2 separate regions of the Homo sapiens genome follow, and region 2 is linked to region 1. Evidence: promoter capture Hi-C in 16 types of primary human blood cells and fetal thymus (Javierre and others, 2016). All regions are on one chromosome and are shown on one strand. Each heading gives the region's core, a stretch centred on a gene start or on the middle of the fragment in contact. The rest is flanking DNA. Distances are from core to core; before and after follow the strand shown.

The links. The method cuts DNA at HindIII sites, captures the fragments that hold promoters and counts their contacts. A CHiCAGO score of 5 or more calls a contact.
Region 2: a contact is called between a fragment that was not itself captured here and the fragment with the promoter of USF3 in region 1, in 1 of 17 cell types (neutrophils). The highest score is 6.7, in neutrophils.

What each region holds. Positions count from the first base shown.
Region 1 is chr3:113,694,649-113,698,845 of GRCh38, forward strand. It overlaps USF3 (upstream transcription factor family member 3), which reads right to left and starts at 1,994. Exons shown (of 7, transcript NM_001009899.4): 1 at 1,722-1,994. RefSeq lists silencers at 1,325-1,714, 1,735-2,204. The HindIII fragment of the contact is 8,785 bases long and covers 1,056-4,197 here.
Region 2 is chr3:114,113,089-114,117,208 of GRCh38, forward strand. No RefSeq gene overlaps it. Among named protein-coding and RNA genes, the nearest start is that of QTRT2, 58 kb to the left of the region's middle. The HindIII fragment of the contact is 8,503 bases long and covers 1-4,120 here.

The DNA of each region.
Region 1 (4,197 bases), core at 744-3,243:
TGGGCCACCCATCAAATACACTAACACTAACGATAGCTGATGAGCTTAAATAAATAAGTAAATAAATATCACACACAAACATCTCATAATGTTTTAAAAAGTTTACAAATTTGAGGCCGGGCGCAGCGGCTCATGCCTGTAATCCCAGCACTTTCGGAAACAGAGGCAGGCGGATCACCTGAGGTCAGGAGTGCAAGACCAGCCTGGCCAACATGGAGAAACCCTGTCTCTACTTAAAGAAATAAAAATTAGCTGGGCTGGTGGCATGCACCTGTAATCCCAGCTACTCAGGAGGCTGATGCAGGAGAATTGCTTGAACCCAGGAGGCGGAGGTTGCAGTGAACTGAGATAACACCACTGCATTCCAGCCTGGGCGACAGAGTGAGACTCTGTCTCAAAAAAAATAAAAGAAAGTTTACGAACTTGTCTTCTTGTCTTGGGCCGCATTAAAAGCCGTCCTTGGACGGGGGTTGGAAAAGCTTGGCTTAGGCTAAAGCAAAACTGCTTTAGGATTAAGCATTCATTCTTGCATGGATACATTACACTACTTCTGCTTTCAGAAGTGCAATTACAATGTATTTTACTTCTTTTGTAACAAATACTTTGAGTACTTAAAGAGAAACAACACATGTATCCCAAACAGCAACTCTGTACTATGTTAAACAAGAGTTCTATGGGAGAGAAAAAAGTCATCAAGGTGAATGGAGAGTAGGACAGCCTGTTGATCCTTCAAAAGGCAGGTTTGTCTGTTTGGTTTTCTTTACAAAAGAGCAAACCTGGGAATATGTTTCAGGATCCATGTAACTCACCGTAAGATTTATTCAAGAAATCTGTACGTTGTTTATAGGTAAGGAAATGTCTTCTTTGCCTACACAGTTGGCCACGACTGTCTTGATCTGTGTGGTGTTAGGTTACTGTATCTACTTGATGGTAAAAATGTTACAAGAACGGAAGTTGAAATTCTGCACTTTGGTTTATGCAGTCTCATATTTCCAGATAAAGTTAATAAACGCAAAGGACCATATCCCAATGTAACGAGGAGGGTTGGGAGGACAAGCTTCAAGAACGAGTGGGGTGAATTCAACTATCAAAATTGTAAACATGAACAAGAGTCCAGGAATCTTATATTTCATCCGGATACATGAAAGTAGATTTCAAGAGTTGGTCATTCACTTGCACTGCTTCTACTCAGAAAGCAAAAGAACGGCTTCTAAAAAGAAAACACAAGCCTAACACTTCGACAGAGGGGTGAGAGGGAAAAAGCAAGCCACATGAGTCTGACGAACGGGTACGAAAGAAATTCAGAGGGCAAGGAAAGAAGGGGAATGAAGAAGACAGGAAAAGGTGAAGGAGGCGGGCAAAGGCCATCTGGTGTGAACCTGGCTGCCCAGCTCTTTATGCACCCAGGGCAGCGTGGGGCCCCTCTCGCCCCGCGCGCATCTAGGAGCTGGGGCGCAGTGCGAGCCCCCCACGGGCCTGGCAGCCGGGGACGCAGGGCGGGCGGGAGATGAGGGGTGCGCTCGCCGCGGGCGCTGACGCCCCACCAGGTGCCGCACGCAAGGGTCCCCAGGAAGGAGGCGCACTTAGCGCAGCCCTGGCCTCCCGGAGCAGGAAGGGGGTGGGTGGAGCTGAGCCCGGGGCCGCCCTCCGGAGCCGCCCCCGCAGCCCTGGCCCCCGCCCCCCGCCCCGGCTGTCAGCGGCCCCCTCCCGCAGTCACTTACCCGCCGGCTGCGCGGTCTCGGCCGCGGTGGCGGCGGCGACGGCGGCGACCCCCGCCTGGGTCATGATCCCAGGAGGGGAAGGCAGGAGTGTCTGACCGTCTGGGCGAATCTCTCCGTCCGCGGCCACCGCCTGCTCCTCCGGGGCTGGGGGAGCGCGGGCCCAGGCCCTCCTCTCCCCCCGCCCCCGCCGCCTCTTTTTGCGGCCACCGCAGCCGCTGCGAGCCCGAGCCCTCAAGGCCGGAGACCCGGCGGCAGCGCGGCCTCAACTTTCCCAGCCCCCCTCCCCCCGCCCCTCCCCGCCCCTCCCGCGGCCGCAGCTCAGCAAGCGAACAGCCTACCCTGGGCGCGCCGCGTTCCCGCCTCTTTCACTCAACCCGCCAATCAGGCTGCGGGAACGCTGCCGTGGTAGCCAATAAGAAGACAGAATGCCGTTGCACTACGCTAGAGGGCGGGAGGAGGCGGAGAGGAAACCAAGGAGTGAACGGGGATCGGGCGGCCCAATGAGGAGGGCCGGGGGGCGGAGGTGTGCAAGTTGGGTTGAAGAAACAGGAAATATTCTTAAAGGTAGAGTGACGGACAGGAAGGAAAGCCAGTAGGTGAATGGGAAAGAGGTGGGCCTGGTTCCTTAAAGGGGACGCCTTGAGAACCTAGAAAAGAAGGTGTTTTAAGAAACTTCTTTGTATCTTCTTCTGTGGTCTCTTTTCTTCGTCTTTCGGTAGGAGTTTGGAAGTGGAAAAATTGAAAAGGAAGAGGGCACGGAAGTCTTTCGGAATAGTTAGCCCCTCTTAACGTGGAGGGCAGGAAGGTGAGAAGATACGTCTTAGTAAATGTGGAGAAGAAAGAATCAGACGTTTCCGACTTCTCGATAACTGGAAGATTGTTGCTGACTTGACGCTGCTCGCATTCGTAGGCTGTGGTCTCTTGTCATCCTTTATTTGCAACAACACACAGATTTCTGTGAATTGGAGATGGCCATGTTCAGAAATGCCCTGGGGGCCTCCCAGCTGGGACAAGGGAGTTTGGCATTGGGGGATGGGGTTTGAGATCTCAAGCCTGGGTTACTAAATACCTGGATCTAGGAGAGGTAGGGCCAGGGGTCACGAAATGGAGACCTGAGTGCCCCTTAACTCCAGGATCTGTGTGGAGCCCTTGGAACCGTGATCACAACTCCCTCTTCCTAGTTTCGCTTCATATTTTATAACCTCCTGCTGAAACAGGTGTCCTCCACCTAGTTGCGGTTATAGATTTCCAAGCCCTTCCACAACCAGATTTGGAAATATCCCAGATCTTAGATGTCCGTGGGCTAACTTCCAGAAGGTGCACACAGGGCATGGCATAATGGGAATTACTTGAGCCTGTATACAGAAGCAGCAGACATCGCATTGAGCAAAAGGGTAAAGGCTAACAGTAACGGAGTCTTATGTTTGTACAGCAGATTGAAAAGCTATGATGAAACGGAAGGCCTGTAATGTTGCTTATAAACTGTGGTACTAATAAACAGGCTAGAAATTTTCTTTAACTCATCCATCTAGGCACACGAAGTTCTAATTAGCCTTTGAACAGACTTGGCACATCCAAATCAAAACTGCAGATAAGAAAGATTCTACGAGTCAGAGCCATAATAGCAATGCTAATAACATCACCATAAAATTGTATAGTATTGGTATGCTCAGCCATAGGAAACAATTTCCAGTGTGTTCAGAATACAAGGTATTTCTCGTTAACAAATATCATATCCAGGGTGTGCATGATTTCCTAAACAACTGCAATGCATCAATTCTAAAGTAAAAACAAATAGTTTTGATGATTCATGAAACAGAATTTAACCATTCCTTTAGATCACCTTTAAAAAATACACATTAATATATTTCTGGCACGATATAGACGTAGAAAAGAAGAACAATTTCCGTTTGATAAAGATCAGAATATTAGCTTTTTAAATTAATCCTTATTACCTAAGTGTAGCCTAAATCCCAAACAGGGATTTTTCTCTTTTCTTTTCTTTTTCTTTTCCTTTTCTTCCCTTTCCCTTTCCTTTCCTTTCCTTTGTTTTCCTTTCCTTTCCTTTGTTTTCTTTCTTTTCTTTTTTCCTGCGACAGGGTCTCCCTCTGTTGCCAAGGCTGAAGGTCAGTGGCACTGTAACAGCTCACTGCAGCCTCCACCTCCCAAACTCAAGCGATCCTCCCACCTCAGCCTCCCAAGTAGCTGGAACCACATGCCCGGCAATTATTTTTTTCTTTTGGATAGAGATGGGGGTCACATTATGTTGCCCAGGCTGATCTTCAACTCCTGGGCTGAAGCCCAGAGATCTTTTTTTTTTTTGGCTTTACCCATTCAACATCAGTTTCAGATAATCACACCAGTCCTATTTTCAAACTAGCTGGCAGTGCTTACAGTGACCTATATTGGTGGTAAAATATACTGGCCAAGTGAAACTGGTCTATAGGGCTGTTAGTTCATTTTTTTCAAGTGGACA
Region 2 (4,120 bases), core at 1,060-3,559, 420 kb after region 1:
TCGAGACCAGCCTGGCTAACATAGTGAAACCCTGTCTCTACTAAAGAATACAAAAATTAGCCAGGCGTGGTGGCACCCACCTGTAATCCCAGCTACTCAGGAGGCTGAGGCAGGAGAATCACTTGAACCTGGGTGGAGGAGGTTGCAGTGAGCTGAGAACACGCCACTGCATTTCAGTCTTCATGACAGAGCGAGACTACGTCTCAAAACAAACAAACAAACAAAAATACAAAAGTTCAAGACTTGGTTTAATATAACTTTAGTGGAAAACATCTGAGAATTTTAGCTGAGCACATGTAGCAGATGTTATAGTCTACTGCCTATAGTCTTACATCAAAACTAAGGCAGTTATTCCCCCAGCTGAGGGGAGTGTTGGTGGCTTATGGCCAGTGGCTCTCAGCTAAGTCCCTGTCCAGGACTGGTTCTCAGCTGAAGAGAACCATCCCTCTTAGGTTGTGCCTCCTCCCTGGAGACAGATACTTCTTATAACTCAGTAATATGGGCATATAAAAGCCTGTTTTGTATGCCTAAAGCCAGGACAAGTTTGAAGGGCTATCCCAGATCCAGAGACCCCTATGGGACTGCCAAAGTCCTTGTTACAACTGACTCAGAGTCCCACTCCTCTTCTGCCCAGTCTTCCTTTATCCTACGTGAGTGTTGATCCTCAAGTTCCGATAAACTTTCTGCATGTGAATCTCCAACTCAGAGTTTGTGTTTGTTAGGGACCCATGTCATCATGGACCTCCTGTTGAAGTGAGGTCATATGGGAGCCAGGTAGTACATGTAACATTGGCTTAAGTGTGACTCATGGTGGGTCGTTTTCTTAGTTCCCAAATGTGTAAATTCCAATTTGTAATTGGGATGGACATATGTAGCAGTTGGCTGAACATCGTTGTGTGCTTGACCCTGGAGAACTAGTGTAACGGGGAAGGCCAAGTGGGAGCTTCTGAAACTTCCCCTCAAGGCAAGATAATAAATTTTAAAAATGACGGTAGATGGCATGACAGAAATTAGGGTGACCATTGAAGATCTAGAGAATTCAGGGCTGATGGTCTCCACTAATGCATCAGTCTGTCCCCTCCAGACCCTGGAGGATGACAGTAGACTGCCACACAGCCAACTAAGTGGTAGCCCCTAATTGCAGCTGTGGTGCCAGATGTGATGTCTTTAACATGGCCTCAAGTATATACTATGAGGCCATCAATCTGGTGTGTTTATGTGTTCATTTCCATCCCTATCAGTAAGGAAGATCAGAAATTCATTCACTTGGGAAGAACAAAAGTTTACATTTACTGCCTTGCCTCATGACTATACAGATTCTCCCATCTGTGGATATAATACTGTCCAAAGGAAGCTGGACCACATGGACATTTTGCACAACTTTTCATTAGTTTGCTACATCTGTAACATCATATTAATCAGACCAAGTGAACAACTGGCAAGGGCTTTGGAAGCCTTGGCTAGACACATATACTCCAAAGGGTGGGAGATTTTAAAAAATACTATAAAGATTCAGAGACTTTCCACATTAGTAAAATTTTTAGAGGTCCAGTAGGCTGGGGAATGCTGAGACATGCACTTCAAAGTAAAGGACAAATTATTGTAACTTGCATTTCCCATAACTAAGAAGGAAACCCAGCACCAATAAGCGTCTTCTGGTTCTGAAAGCAGCACATTTCACACTCAGAGACACTACTCTAGCACATACGCCAGCTGAAACATGAGTCTACCAGATTTGGAGAGAGCCCAGAGCAGGAAAGGGCTCTGCAGCAGGACCAGGCAGTAGTGCAAGCTGCTCTGTCATATGATGATTTTGGTCACATGATGTGGTAGAGCCTACAGTATAGGAGGTATCATTGATAGAAAAAGGCTGTGTACATTTTATGGCAGGCCTCAATAGGCAAACACAAATAGACCCCTAGGATTCAGAAGCAAGACAAGCAATTTGCAGCAGAGAACTATACGTTTAGATAAATATTCCTGGTGCCCTACTGGTTCCTAGTAGGAACACAGCACCCAACTATGGGATGCCAAGGGTCCACACAGCAAGGACTGCCCATTGCGAATTCTGACAGACCCCCAAATCATGAAGGCAGGCAGGCCTACCAACAATTGTAAGGAAGGAAATGATACGTTTGGGATCAGGCATTAGCAGAGCCAGAGAGCACAAATAAGTTGCACGCATATGTGGCCCAGACTACTAGGTCATCCATCACATTTGCACTGATGCCTCACCCTTAGCTCACACTTACGGCAGCATAAAGTGAGGGCAAAAGCTGAGTTTGATTTATGTACGGGTAAGATTGGAATGTAGTAGCAAGCTAAAAATAGACTATTGCTATATAACAGGACCACATCCTTAGCGTGTCCCAGAAAATTAGGGATGAGAGAAATTCTTCCTAATGGATAAAGCATCAGATGGTGCCTTTGTCGAGAGAAATACTCTGAGATAAGATATGTATCACTTATAGGCAGTAGTGAATTATTTGGACAGTTGACTCTATACAACCTGGGAAGTAGAATGTCTTAGCCAGTTGATGTCAGCCAGCTCCTATCAGTGCTGGCACAATAGGCACATTAATGGACCATGGGTAAGGAATGGAGACACCATCCTAACAAGACTAATTGACTTTATTTTTATTTTTTTTGAGACGGAGTTTCACTCTTGTCACCCAGGCTGGAGTGCAATGGCACCATCTCGGCTCACTGCAACCTCTGCCTCCCAGGTTCAAGTGATTCTCCTCTGTCAGCCTCCCAAGTAGCTGGGATTACAGGCACCTGCCACCAAGCCCTGCTAATTTTTGTATTTTTAGTAGACATGGGGTTTCACCATGTTGGCCAGGCTGGTCTCTAACTCCTGACCTCAGGTGATCTGCTGGCCTCGGCCTCCAAAAGTGCTGGGATTACAGGTGTGAGCCGCAGTGACTGGCCTAATTGACTTTCTTAATCAGGAGAAGATAGCTCTTCTCTTACATGATGGCGACAGAAAAGAATACTCCCTTGCCTAATTTTGATGATAAATGGATAAGTACAACAACCATGACTGAGAAACAGTGGTGGTGATGGAAGCTATTTATAGGCCCAACAACACGTGCTCTCACTTGCTAAGGCTGATCTAGTTACTGCCACTGCTGAAGATCCAGCCTGACAGCAACAGATACCATCACTGAGTCTCCAGTATGGCTCCATCCCTCAAGAAGACCAACCAGCTTCTTAATGGCAAATTATTCTTCTTAATGACAAAATGGGTCCTTTCCACCATGTGATTCCACCCTGTGATTTTGATACGAATGGACACTTATCCTATTCATACAACTTCAGCTAGACAGTGCCTATGTAGCATTTGATCCACTGAAACAGGATCCTGCCAAACATTGCATTGGACTAAAGTAACTGCTTATGTTAATGGAAGTTTAACCTTAATTACTTCCTTATAGGCCTTAACTCCAAATACAGTCACATTGGGGGTTATAGATTCAACATATGAATTTTGGAAGGCTCTTCTTTTCCCAGAATTGTCTTTGCTGAAAATCAATTGACCATAAATATAACGATTTATTTCTGGACTGTCAATTCTGTTCCATTGGTCTATATGTCTTCTTACTGCAAATACCATACTGTTGATAACTGCAGCTTTATAGTTAGTTTTGAAATCAAGGATTAAACATTCTCCAACTCCTTTCTTCCCACGCATGGAAAATCACTGATCTCTTTTCTGTCTCTACAGATTTACCTATTCTAGGTACTTTTCTTTTTAAACAGTGTCTTTTGGCTATTCTAGGTCTTTTGTACATCTATGTAAATTTTACAATCTGCTTGTCAGTTCGTGATGAAAAAGGCTGGTGGAATTTTGAGAGGGATTGTGTTGTCTATATATCAATTTGTAGAAAGTTGCCATCTTAACATATTGAGTTTTCAAATCTCAGAACATAGAATGTTAGAGGTCCCTGTTCTTTTTTAATTTTAAATTTCTTTTCATAATTTAAACATTTTTTCTATTGAGGTAAAATTCATATAGATAAAATTAACTATTTTAAAGTGAACAATTAAGTGGCATTTATTACATTCACAATATCGTACAACAACTACCTCTATCTAGTTCCAAAATATTTTCATCACC